Linked DNA regions of Homo sapiens: regions 2, 3 and 4 are each linked to region 1. The links are contacts of gene promoters, found by promoter capture Hi-C in blood cells and fetal thymus (Javierre and others, 2016). All regions are on one chromosome and are shown on one strand. The core of a region is centred on a gene start or on the middle of the fragment in contact, and the rest is flanking DNA. Distances in the headings are between cores, read along the strand shown. Region 1 holds the start of KIRREL1 (kirre like nephrin family adhesion molecule 1). Region 2 holds the start of LOC124904432 (a long non-coding RNA gene). Region 3 holds the start of AIM2 (absent in melanoma 2). Region 4 has its middle 19 kb from the start of AIM2.

The links. The method cuts DNA at HindIII sites, captures the fragments that hold promoters and counts their contacts. A CHiCAGO score of 5 or more calls a contact.
Region 2: a fragment that was not itself captured here is called in contact with the fragment with the promoter of KIRREL1 in region 1 in 1 of 17 cell types (fetal thymus); the score reaches 7.5 in fetal thymus.
Region 3: a contact is called between a fragment that was not itself captured here and the fragment with the promoter of KIRREL1 in region 1, in 7 of 17 cell types (fetal thymus, naive CD4 T cells, endothelial precursors and 4 more). The highest score is 18.0, in fetal thymus.
Region 4: a fragment that was not itself captured here is called in contact with the fragment with the promoter of KIRREL1 in region 1 in 1 of 17 cell types (activated CD4 T cells); the score reaches 5.3 in activated CD4 T cells.

The regions. Positions count from the first base shown.
Region 1 is chr1:157,991,563-157,995,030 of GRCh38, reverse strand. It overlaps KIRREL1 (kirre like nephrin family adhesion molecule 1), which reads right to left and starts at 1,386. Exons shown (of 15, transcript NM_018240.7): 1 at 1,303-1,386. The coding sequence starts at 1,354. The HindIII fragment of the contact is 5,747 bases long and covers 1-3,468 here.
Region 2 is chr1:159,013,229-159,016,389 of GRCh38, reverse strand. IFI16 (interferon gamma inducible protein 16) reads right to left here. Exons shown (of 12, transcript NM_001376587.1): 2 at 1,445-1,729; 3 at 403-518. The coding sequence starts at 1,709. It overlaps LOC124904432 (a long non-coding RNA gene), which reads left to right and starts at 2,340. Exons shown (of 2, transcript XR_007066671.1): 1 at 2,340-2,823; 2 at 2,910-3,161. RefSeq lists an enhancer at 174-1,373. The HindIII fragment of the contact is 2,831 bases long and covers 400-3,161 here.
Region 3 is chr1:159,073,571-159,076,890 of GRCh38, reverse strand. It overlaps AIM2 (absent in melanoma 2), which reads left to right and starts at 125. Exons shown (of 6, transcript NM_004833.3): 1 at 125-258. The HindIII fragment of the contact is 734 bases long and covers 1,006-1,739 here.
Region 4 is chr1:159,093,621-159,096,989 of GRCh38, reverse strand. It overlaps a transcript of AIM2 not described here. Among named protein-coding and RNA genes, the nearest start is that of AIM2, 19 kb to the right of the region's middle. The HindIII fragment of the contact is 6,509 bases long and covers 1-3,369 here.

The sequences.
Region 1 (3,468 bases), core at 137-2,636:
GGTGTCTGCCCATATGAATGTCTGTTCAAGTTTCTTTGTTTGCTAGAGGGTTGGTTTCTGTGAGAGCGTGTGTCCTGTCCTTGTAAACGCCTGCATACATGTACTGTGTATAGTTGTAACGTTCGGGTGGATGAATGCGTGAGTGTGTGCCGATCTGGGGGAGGAATCTGTCTTCCTCAGATGTCTCCGTGTCTTTGTGTATATGTGTCTGTCTCAGTGTGGGGGATGTTTGTGGGGATGTCTCTCTCTCAGTAGGTGAGTAGTCTGTCTCAGTGTCTGTGAGTGTTTTACGGTGTTTGTGTGTCAATTTCTGTGTGTCAGCTCCATTTTTGGGGAGGGAAGGAGTTCAGCAGGATTCAGTCTTCCTTAGAGTCAGACCTGGGAGGCAAGAACCAACTCCCACAGACCCCAGTCCCTGCTGCAGTCTGGACCCTTGGTTCCCTCAGCCCTCTTCCCTCCCCCAACCCCAGCCCTGCCCAGGATACACTGACATCCTCATCTCTCCCAACCACCTCCCTCACCTCCCAGCCTCTCCCCTGCCAGTGTCAAATAAGCCCCAGACAGCAACACTTTCCTGAGCCCAAGTAGAGTGTCAGCCCCCTCCCCCCACCGCCTCTGCCCCCGCCCCCGTGAGTTCCCCCCCTCTGTATCAAGCGGGCCTGAAGCTGTATGTGGAACTCCACTCTCCACCCAGAGCCTCCGTGGGCAGGGGTTCCAAATCCCCACTAGAGGCGCCGAGACACCCCTCCCTTCCTCTAGAGGGGGCAGCCCCAGGCAGGCTGGAGCCGTGATTCAGACTCAGACCCCCGAGGGGCTGGGCTGGAGTAGGGGGATCCCCTTGGCAACATCTTCGGGAGGTGGGACCCAGCTTTTCGCTCACCCCCTCGCCCGAAATCCGAAATCCCACCCTCTTCCCAGCCTTGCCCTTAGGCTGGACTCAGGCGTCCGGAACCCCGGCCTCAGAGGGCGAGGGTCGGTAGGGCTGCCAGAAGCTCAAGAGAAAGCGTTCGGTTCCCCGTTTTACTCGGACCTCCAGCCCTCGCGGCCCCATTGCTCGGTTCTCCCGCGCAGCCAGAGGAAACAACTTGGGCAAATCAACGGCAAACTCATTCTCCCCAGCCCCTCGTTACTCCGCGCCCCCTCCCCCAGGGCTCTGCGCCCGGACCGAGCCCCCGCCTCGTGGCGTCCGGACCCGGGGACTGGCCGCGGGCCGCGGGGCACTCCAGCACTCTCCCACCGGGGAAGCAGTGCCCCGGCCCCGGGGGGAAGCCGAGCGTCCGGGGGTGGGCTGGGGGCCCTTACCTTGGGAGAAAGTATCGGAGAGAGTGAGGATCCAGACGAGGAGGCTCAGCATGCTGTCCGCCCGCCGTGCGCCCGCCCGCGGCTGGGGCCCGGAGTTGGCGAGCGAGCCAGAGGAGCGGGCTGGGGAGGAGGGGAGCCCGGGAGCCCGGGAGCCCGCCCCCCGCCCGCCCGCGCCCGCCCCTGCACACACACACGCGCGCGCGCACACTCACGCGCACAAACTCATTTCCCTGCCCTCCGATTCTCTTTATCTCTCTTTCCTCCCAGACCTTTTTCTCCTCCTGGTCGCCCTCCCCCTTTAATTATTTCTCCTCTCAAGCTGTATCTCTCTGGGTCTCTTTCGGTCTTTGCTCCCCCTTTCTCTCCCCTTCTCTTCCTTCCCTCTCTCCCTCCCTGCCTCCCTGCCTGCCTGCCTCCCTCCCTCCGCCTGACGTCTACTCTCCCTCCGACGGCGCCTCCCTCCACGAGCCCTCCCCCTGCCCCCCCACAACGCGCGCACACACATACCCCCCTCGCTGGAACTGAGATGGAAGGAGAGCAAAGAGGGAAAGGAATTGAGGGCAAAGGCAAAAGGGGGTGAAAAATGTGACCGTCGTGGGTTCTGGGGCAGGCACGACGGGACCCCTGGCCACCCCACCCCCTCCTATTTATAGACGCAATCTTGGTCGCGGGCTATGGAACTAAGCAGTGGAGGAGGAACATGGGCTGAGGGACATCAGCCTCTAGCTCAGAGGATGTGATGGGGAGTGTGTGTGTGTGTGTGTGTGTGTGTGTGTTTCCGTGTGTGTGTCTAGGAGTGGGGTGGGGGGCAGGGAGTTAAATAAACATAAAGACCTTTCTTTTTAAATTCCACACCCAAAGTCTAGCCCCTAGATTCCCCAAATTAAGAATTCTCAATTGACTAATGAATGCTTGGATAAGGGAGGGGCATACATGCCTCTCCCCACCTATAAAACCCAGAACTGGAGAATGGGAGCTGCCTCTTGGACCTGCCTTGAGGCCCTGCCTTGGCTTCACCCAGTCAAGGTTGAGCACAGCTAGGCGTTGGAGGACTCAGCGGCCTGGAAGAGGCACAGTTGACCCTTCCTTTGTTCATCTTAGCCTTCCACCCATCCCGAAGGAGAAGGTAGCCAACTGGATGGCTTTGAAGGGCCAAGACCTGGCCTCACCTCCCTGAATGCAAGCCAGAGGAGAAGACAGCCACCAGTCAGATCTCTAAGCACGCTGGAGTTTGAGATCTTTTGGGGTAGGGACATGGAGGAACTAGGAAGGAAGGGAATTCCTGAGAATCATGAGAGCATTCAGGAGGGATCTCCACTTTCTTAAGGGCCCAGTTTGGCAACCAGCTCCTCTTCTCACCCCTGACCAGATACTTCTGCTCACAGGATTGCTCGGGTAGCCAGAGGTCTGGACCCTAGGGAATGGACAGAGAAGTTGCTGGAATTGCACAATTTTACAGTAATGTGTTGGTCCAAAGAGGTCTCCACTTCTTTCCTCCCAGATCCCAGATCTCCTGGGTCTCTAACACTCCCCGCCAAGTTTTCTCAATTTCTGCCCCTGAAAGTAGGTGCGTGGCTCTCTGGTGCCCTCTGTTGATGTGTAGCGGCCACAGCTCCTCTTTCCTCCGCAGATACTAACACCAGCCTGTGGTCCAGACGCATCCACACACAATTAGAAGACAGAGAAAGGCAGGAAAACACCCAAGCTCATATGCAGAAGCCCCATATGCACAGACCCAGAGAATTCTTCATATATTCCAAAACACAGGCAAGCACAGCTTAAGAATAGAGCCATACTTTGGCCAGAGAAATAGGACTGCAATCCCAAACGTACACAGAAAGACACCAACACACAGACACATAAGGCTTTTCATTTGTTCATTCATTAATCATACATTCCACAGATATTTTTTCAGCTCCAGACTGCTATTTTCCAGTCACCATTCTAGGCTTTGGGGAGACAATAATAATAAAAAAAAAAGGACAAAGTCTTTCCCTTTAATGTTCCATTCTGGAGGAAAGTCAGAGGCAGTAGAAAAAAATATGAAATATACTAGGTTATGGTAAATGCTATGGGGGACAAATAAAGCAGGATAAAAGATTAGGGAGAGGGAGAGAGGGAGGAATTACTGTTCTTACAGGTAATCAAAGAAAGCTGTTCTGCTAC
Region 2 (3,161 bases), core at 566-3,065, 1.0 Mb before region 1:
TAAGAGATGGGCATAGATGGTTTCATTAAACGAAGAAAGAGGAGAATGTTATACACATTATTTCTCTAATTATTTCTGTTATGGGATGTGCTGACTTGGGATTAGAGAAACTAGGTTTTTATACACATGGACAAAGTACTTACCTGATTCTCACGTTGACACTCCACTCTACTAGAATGAAGGTATCACATTTATGTTATATATATTTACATTATGTTTACTCATGTGTTTGGTGCATTGCTTTGAGCATCAATAAGATGATCAATTATCATACAATTTGGTAAATCTGAAACTTGATGGGAAACATGAAGAAATAACTGCCTGCTGGAGAGATTGAGTGGAAGAGCCGTAGCAGAGCTTCCTCTGTGGGACTTGAAGCCTGCTCCTCTTCCTGAAGCTTACCTGAGCTCCAGGAGTTGCCTCTGCTCCTTCAGTTTTGACAGTGCTGCTTGTGGAGGGTGCAGGTGAAGTAGCATCCACTTCCTTCTTCCTCTTTCTTGATAGGGCTGGTCCTTTTACTGGAATAGATTCAATTTTATTCCCAACCAATGCAGAAAAAAGGAAGACATATAAACGATCTCCGACAGCTGAAGCAGTTTCAATACAATTTGCTCTCAGTTCCTGCTTGAGGGTTCAGCTGTGCTTTAGTCTAGCTCTACTGCATTAGCCCAGCCTGGCCTTAAGGAGACCAGCAGTCACAAGACAGGAACAAGCACTGACTCATGCTCCTCAGCACTTTCCTCACTCCTCCCCTGTGCACTGAGCACATGCTTCCTGTTCTCTGAACTCCATGTGCTTCAGTTAACCCTTTCCCAATGCGGTTCTCCGATCATTTTGTTTTAAAAACTAATGTTTTCATGATGGAGACTGCTAGGTCACATTCCCCAGGTAAAGATATTCAAATTATAGAAACCAGCCAAAGGTTTCCATGAGGAAGGATATACTGATTTTGGACTTAGACTTTTTCAAATCCTTTTTTTTAACTTGATATAACAAGAGAGGAGATCACACTTCTGAGAGGCAGGCTCACATGTAAGTATTGCATTTTTTTAAATTATAAAGGGTAGTGATGGGTTAAATGGTCTCAATAGAACAGATACATTCATTGGCTAAATGTACATATCTTGAATTTAAACAGTTTTTATGATTTTATTATTATATAATCTTTCTAATGTACTGGAAGTCTCAGTCCCCCTTCAACTCCCTCTCACTTTTGTTCTTTCACTGATCCCAAATATACATTCTGAAATACTTCAATCTACACCAGTAATGGAATGCACTAAGTTGTCAACTTGTTGGCCTCTGAAGTACCAACATTGTCTCAGCTGTTGAGTCACAAACTGGGGAAAACACATCTCAAGTATGTCCGAGGTGGGGCTCTAATCAATGTTGGGGAGGGTTTGGGGATGGTTGCAGGGAGTGGGTGTTCCCTCTTCCCAATTACCTTTTAACTTTTCTTTTTTAAGAGTTTCAGCCAGGTCTTCAAGCGTTGGTATATCTTCGAAAATTTTTATTAGTTTGCCCAAACCAGCATCACCTCGGAACTTTTCTTCCATCAAGTCAGCAATCTGAATTTTGTCATACTCTTCTCTCATTTTTAAATTAAGTTTTAAATCGTTGCTCAGTAAGGACTTAACCATTCTAAAATGATAATCATTGATGACCTCTAATCCTTTTAGTAGAACAATGTTCTTGTATTTTTTTCCCATCTTTACAGACATAAGTGAGCCTACAAGAGAAAATGGTATATACAGTGTTACACATGTATACAGACAATTTAAAAGATGTATGCCTATGTGAGTGAGTGGCCCATATGAAAGAGTTGTTCATGAATATGTGTGATAAAGAAGGACTCAACGACCAAATGTGTTACTGTAGAAATTGAGTGAAGAACTGCTGGGTTAGGAATGTCTAAGAAATTATTCCCATTGAATGAGAATAGTTGAGTTGGGTCCAGTTGTTAGAGGGAGGTCTGAGAACAAGCAATTGCCTCAGTGTTAAGAGTATGAGCTCTGCAGTGTCAAAGCCCTTGGTTCCTCTTCTTATCCTTTACTGGGGCTGAAGCCTATTCCCCAAATCCTGCCTGTTGTTTCTTAAATCTTCCCACACCCAGTATGACTGGAGCGGCCTAGGTGTAAATGGGCTGCAGCCTCCCACCTTATATGAATAACTTTCTGCTACAGCGCTACAGTTTCATGCTGTGGCACTGACCCTATTCTCCTTGACTCTTCCCTAGTTGGCTTTCATTAGCATCCTCCCTTCTTTGGTGCTAGACCATGGCTTCTGTTCTCTGTACCCATAAAACCATAACTTTGCTGAAAATCTGCATGCTTTCTAGTGCAGCATCACAGTATTTATTCACTGAAATGATTTTATTGGTTGTTTTATTTTTCTTCTTTCAGACTTGATTTGTCTAATTATTTCTTTTCGCACAATCAGTTTTCTCTCGATAAGCCACATTTATATTCCACTGAAATCCTTCAATATTTCTCCTTTTTCTTCCCCAAAATTCCTTGCTTCCTATACTGTCTCAGAAAGTGTTGAATAAGCTGCATCTTTTTTACTTCTAGTACCTTTGTACTCCTTGTATCTATGCTTCACAAAGATGCCGGACACCTTGTGTCTTCATGCCTCATGACTTTGCTAGTTCCTTCTTACTGCCTGGAAAGCCATTCCCACATTTCTTTCTTTGACTACTTCCCATACAACCTTAAGACTCAACTGAGGCTTTGTCTCATGGTAGATTTCAGAGTCTCCCTATGGACAGAGTGTCACTGCTCTTGACCTCTTAACACCTGTACACTTCCATGATGACAGTGCAAGGTATGGATTCCAAAACTTTTAAATTAATGAATTTTTTAATTTTAGGAATGATGTCTTTGTGTATAACCAAGATATCTAAATTTCAGGGGCTATTAATTGGGCCAGGCGCAGTGGCTCACGCCTGTAATTCCAGCATGTTGGGAGGCCGAGGTGGTCGAATCACAAGTTCCGGAGATCAAAAGCATCCTGGCTAACACAGTGAGACCTCGTTTCCACTAAAAATACCAAAAATTAGCCAGGTGTGGTGGCAAGCGCTTGCAGTCCCAGCTACTCGGGAGGCTGAGGCAGGAGAATTGCTTGAACCCAGGAGACGGAGGTTGCAGTGAGCGGAGATCGTG
Region 3 (3,320 bases), core at 123-2,622, 1.1 Mb before region 1:
CTTCTGTGGCTGCTAGTGAGAACCCAAACCAGCTCAGCCAATTAGAGCTCCAGTTGTCACTCCTACCCACACTGGGCCTGGGGGTGAAGGGAAGTGTTTATTAGGGGTACATGTGAAGCCGTCCAGAAGTGTCAGAGTCTTTGTAGCTTTGAAAGTCACCTAGGTTATTTGGGCATGCTCTCCTGAGTCCTCTGCTAGTTAAGCTCTCTGAAAAGAAGGTGGCAGACCCGGTTTGCTGATCGCCCCAGGGATCAGGAGGTAAGCACCATAGAGGAGCTGGGTTAGAGACGAGAGACTTAACCGTTTCTCTGCTGAAAAAGACAACTGAGGAAAGGCCAGCCATGCTGTGCACACCTCTGAGAACCTGAACCTGCAAACATGGACATCAGCTCTGAAAGGATGGGTTCATTTCTCTTTTATTCACTTTAGCCATGTCCTCTGGTGTCTCTGAGCTGGTGTTCCTTAAGCTTCGGCTTCCTTTGGGGTTTGTCTATCAGCCTATTTGTAAGGCTGACTTTTATGCCAATAGCAAATACAAGCATTTTTTAAGTTAACAGATATTATGAAGTAAAATGCAAGTTTTTCATTTATAAGGCAACATAACTTCAGAGAAAAAACTGAGTCAATCACATAAAATGTGATTAAAATGTGATTGTTATTATATAAGAGGGTTATAGGAAGATTAGCTTCTTATGGACAAGTAGAAAAGTAGGAATCATCCAAGCTGATTGTCACAGTAGATATTCAACAAAGGTAGTGTCCTTCCTTGCTTTCATCAGTAGGATGGGGGCATTTGGATGGCTTTATCATTGCAAATATTTTTAATGTATTCCTTATTTTGAAAATGGTCCTGATAATAGTTTTAATTTTCACTCATGAACTCTACATGTATAAGTAGAGTTTCTCCAGCGCTTACCAACATATAGGAAAAAACATTATAAGGCCATTAACAGTGATAGTTTAGAATTTATTAACATTGACTCTACTGATGGGGGTATTCAAGCTTCCCTAAAATTCACAATCAGTTATTTTCAGCTCATAAACATCTTTTCCTGTTCTTTGGCTTATTTCTTCCACTTTATATGTTGCTGCTCTGGAAGTCATTAATTGCTAATAATGTCAAACATCTTTTTTATGTTTATTGGATATTTGAGCAAATTGCTCATTCACATCTTTTGCACACTTTTCAAATAGACTGTTGTTTTCTTATTGATACATGGTTCTCCATGTATTCCAAAAGCAAAACCTCTATTAGCTCTCTCTCTCTCTCTCTCTCTCTATATATATATATATAGCAGGTATAGCCATATATATATGTGTGTGTGTGTGTGTGTGTGTGTGTGTGTGTGTGTGTGTATTGCAGGTATCTGCCCAGTTTTTGCCTTGTATAATCACTTTGTTTAGTGTGTGTGTGTGCACGGATGTGTGTGTTTCCTACAAAGAAATTGAGAATATGCATGCAATCACATTTGACAAATTTTTTTTTTCTGGCTTGTCCTTTTTGTGCCTTATTTAAGGAACCTCCTTCTACTTCAATGTATTGAGAAATTCTGTGTTTTATTCAACATCATTACTATTCTATTTAGATAATTAATCCAACCAGATATATATTTTGTGTATGATATAAGAGAAAGGCTGAATATATCATTCCCTGTGTATTGTCATTTGTCTGAACACTTTTTATAGTTGGCCATTCTTTCCTTGTGATTTTTAATGCCACTTTGATTATATACCAAGCTTTAATTTACATGTGGTCCTGTTTCCACACTCTATTTATTAGTTCATTTTTTTCTACGCCACTGCCATACTGATTTAATAATTATACATTTGTAGTAAGTATTGATACCTAGTAGTAGGGATAGTACATCCTGATAAACATATTCAACTTGTTTTGCAGGTTTTTGTCTTTATTTTTTTCATTTAGGTTTTAGGATCATTCTGATAAATTCTATGAAAAACCCTTTGAGATTTTGGATAGGAGTTTATAGATTAATTTGACAACACTGCTGTCTTCATTTTATCAAATCTTCCCATTTAAAATATCAGACATACACCCACTTAAGTAGGTCCTTTAAATCTCCCAATAAAGTTTTATAAGTTTCCCTTTAAAACTCTTAAATATATTGTATTCGATGTTCTTATGTACTTTGTAGTTTTGTTGCTATTGGAAATTACTTTTTTTATGTAATTTTTTTCTCTCTTGGAGTGGTACTAAAATAAAGGAATGCATTTCTGTATATTAATCTTATAGTTATAAACTGTTGAATTATTATTTATAATGTTTTGTGTATTATTTTGGATACTATACATAAACAACTATATTACTACAACGTGATTTTGGCAACAAGTTACAAAAATAGGTTGATGGACAGAATAAAGAATCCAGAAATAGACTCACTCATATTTGGACAACTGATTTTTGCAAAGGTAAAAAAAAAAATCATTAAAAATGACAGTCTTTTTAACATATGATTCTGGGAAAATTCATATTCATATGAAAAATAAATGAACTTTGAATCATCACTTATATCATATACAAATTAACTCAAAGCAGTACATACAGCCAAATGTGAAATGATCAAACCGTAAAATTCTTACAGGAAGACATAAAATCTTCTAATCTTGAGATTGGAAAAGATTTCTTAAATAAGACACTGAAAGCATGATCCATGAAAGAACAGATTGATTAATTGCACTTCATCAGGTATATGTATATGCCAAAATTTATCAGATTGTATACTTCCAGTGTATGCACCGTGTTGTATGCCAGTTATGCCTCGATAAATCTATTTTAAAAATAACAGGAAAATGTATCCTGTTTCCTTTTTGTTGTTGTTGTTGTTGTTGTTTTGAGATGAAGTTTCGCTCCTGTTGCCCAGGCTGGAGTGCAATGGCGCGATCTTGGCTCACTGCAACCTCCACCTCCCAGGTTCAAATAATTCTCCTGCCTCAGCCTCCTGAGTAGTTGGGATTACAGGCGCCCACCACCATGCTCGGCTAATTTTTGTACTTTTAGTAGAGATGGGGTTTTGCCATATTGGCCAGTCTGGTCTCAAACTCCTGACCGCAGGTGATCCGCCCACCTTGGCCTTCCAAAGTGCTGGGATTATTACAGGCGTGAGCTACCGCGCCCAGCTAATGTATCTTGTTTTCTGAGAATTCCAGAGGTGTTGTATACTTTCTGAAGATGTCTTTCCCAGGAGTAGTGATCACCTTGCTTAAGAAGTTCTTACCTATGTCCTACTCAAATCTCTTTTACTACTGCAAATATTTTATTTTTCTTTAAAAAATATTAATAGCTCACCTTGCTTTATTTTGAA
Region 4 (3,369 bases), core at 7-2,506, 1.1 Mb before region 1:
GGAGCTGCCTAAATCTCAGAGCAACCTAATGAGTAGGAAATCACCTAGATCACAAGCAGGTGACAATATCGAAGGATGAAGGGAATACTTTTTGTTTGTTTTTGTCGCTAAAGGCCAGTTTAGTCTCTGTATACCCCCCATTCCCCCCATCATCCTTCACCCTCAGGGAATGAAAGTTACCTCTAAGTCTTGAAGCAGCCCATGTCATACCTGTGCTCTCCAGCCTGCTGGTACCTACAAATAGTTACAGGCATTCTTCTTCTGGTTGGTCCCAGCTCTGAGTCTACTGAGCCATGGTGTGTCTGCCTTGAGAGTGCCTTTTGCAATTCTGTCTATGATCATACCTCAGGAAAGAAATGGCAAGCCACAGAAATTATGAAAAGTTTAGAGAGGCAGTCTTACAAAGAAATAAATTTAAATTGTCTCTTAAAGCTGGAAAAGGAGCCCGTGGATATATAGAGCACCAAAATCCATAAAATTTTTAAAATGAAAATAAATAGCAATTTACTTATTAAATACTATATTATTATTCCCCTGGTATACATGACACATCCAACATTTATTAAGCTCAGACTATGAGCTATTCATTGTGCTAGGTGATTCACACATTATCCTGTTTCTTTTCACAACATTACTGCAAGATAGGCATTATATTTTTATTTTACAGACAAGAATCAGAGAGAGAGAGGCTAAGTAACCCTCCCAAGGCCAACTAGCTAGTGAATGAAGTAGGATTTGAAGATGCATTAAAAATGTTTTAAGTGTCTGCTTTTTCTACTACACAAAGTTGCCTGTCTTGAAGCACAAAGGAGAAGGCTGGGACAACTAATTAAAGAAGGATCTTTTCAGCCTACAGTAGCATTGTGTTTATGTTGAATCAGGAACCAGCACCCTTGTCTCTGGTAGTGGAGTCATCCCAAAGCCCAGATGTACTCTACCAAGACAGCTTATAATCTGGCTTGTGGTAACATGAGATTTTATGAAAATGGACCTTTATTATGTGATGTCTCAAATTTTATTGAGATTTAATATATGAGACCCTAGTCTAATTCCATACTCTTTGCAATTTCTTCTCAATTTGATCCCTCCTTTCACTATAATATCCCTGAAATGAAAAATGAACATCCATAGTCACCAGTATAAAGCATTGAATTGAAATTTTGAGGCTCTCCTTTTCAGTGGTCTTACCTTCTTAGGGAACTCTTGATAATATACAATGTATGATATTGCCAATTAAGAGACTAAAATGTTAAATACTTCTAACCACTACAGATTTCCAAGCATCCTTTATAATATTTTAAGAGTATTTTTTTTTCACTTCAAGACAAACGTGGTACCTTAAAATTCTTAATTTACATACATTTTCTATATCAGACAGAGTAAACTAGGTATCTTTCAGCAAAGGAGGAAGGTCCAGAAAAAAGTGCAGAACATAGCAGAGAGCATTCTTGAGCACGTAGCTGGGGAAACAGAGGTAACAGCTGTCACATAAGCAGAGGCCCTGTAGGCCCGGGTGGCAGATACAAGGTCTCAATGCTCTTACTTCACCTTTCTCTTCCTGAGCCCTCAGTACTGAGAATTCATGGCTCAAGTACATGCAACCACTACCAAATTGATTCGAGTTGACATTTGTAACAAAAACTATTCTCTATCATGCTTTATTTTTTTTTCTGCCTCGGGGAAATGGCTGAATCATTTCACAAATCCCTTAGGATACAGAGACAGAGAGAAGGGATAGATTTAAATGTTTTCTTCCTTTTGATTTAGACTGACTATAATGCTTGATGATAAAGCATGTACAACAAAAATAAACACTTTCCATAATTATATTAATTTACGGATAGCAATGAAAATGATCTGAAGGGATTTCTGCAGAAGAGTTAATACCTGTAGTGCTTCTCTCTCTGGATGATGGGATTATGAGTGTTGTTCTTTGTCTGCTTTTGTTTGGCTACATTTTCTGGATTTTTTTTCAGTAATGATTTAAATTGCCCGCTTTTGTAACAGAGACAAAAAGAAATGGGCTTAATAAAAGAAATAATAATTTTTTTGATATTCAGGGTTTTTTTTTACCTTTTTCGCATAAGCAGCCTAGACTAAGAATAATTGGCCCCAAATAAATTAGACATACAAAGCAAAAAGGTAAAATGACATTCTCAATTTTGGAAAGTTGATTTTTAAAATGTAAATTTCATAAATCATTGCAAAAAATTTGTATGGTATGTCAAGTTACCAATACTTAAAAAAATTCAGTGAGAACATTTGATTTGTTTTCTTTTCATTTTTTCTTCGGAGACAGAGTCTCGCTCTGTCGCCCAGGCTGGAGTGCAGTAATGCAATCTTGGCTCACTGCAACCTTTGCCTCCTAGTTTCAAGCGATTCTCCAGCTTCAGCCTCCCGAGTAGCAGGGATTACTGGTGCACGCCACCAAGCTCAGCTAAGTTTTTATATTTTTAGTAGAGACAAAGTTTCACCATGTTGGCCAGGCTGGTCTCGAACTCCTGACCTCAAGTGATCCACCCACCTCGGCCTCTCAAAGTGCTGGAATTACAGGCATGAGCCACTGCACCTGGCCTTGATTTCTTAAAATTGTTGAATACTGCATACAGAATACTTTTAAGCACATGTTTAAGATGTAAAAGTACACCAGCTCAATGAATAGCTATGTACCTACCACCCAATTTATGAAATATTAGTATTAGGTTGGTGCACAAGTAGCTGTGGCATTTGCCATTACTTTTAAATGGGAAAAACTGCAATTACATTTGCACCAACCTAATAGAGTGTTATCATTATTTCTGAAGTTCCCGTCTGTCCTCTGGTTCTAGCCACTTTCCAGTTCCCTGAAGTTACGACTAAATTTTGTGTCTTATTATCTCTCTGCTTTTCATTTAAGTTTTATAACAATGAACAATATATTAAGTTTTTACAAATTTTTATAATTTAAATATGCCATGTGCAGTGACTCACGCCTGTAATCCCAGCACTTTAGGAGGCCGAGGCAGGTGGATCATGAGGTCAGGAGATCGAGACCATCCTGGCCAATATGGTGAAACCCCATCTCTACTAAAATACAAAAAAAAAAAAATATCCAGGCATGGTGGTAGGCGCCTGTGATCCCAGCTACTCGGGAGGCTGAGGCAGGGGAATCACTTGAACCTGGGAGGTGGAGGTTGCAGTGAGCCGAGATTGTGCCACTGCACTCCAGCCTGGTGACAGAACAAGACTCCGTCTCTCTCTCTCTCTCTCTCTCTCTGTATATATATATACACATACATATATATGTATATATATATTTTCTAAATAAATAAAATGTTATATACATTCCTCTGTAACTTGCTGATCTTCATTATGTCATAACTGCAGTTC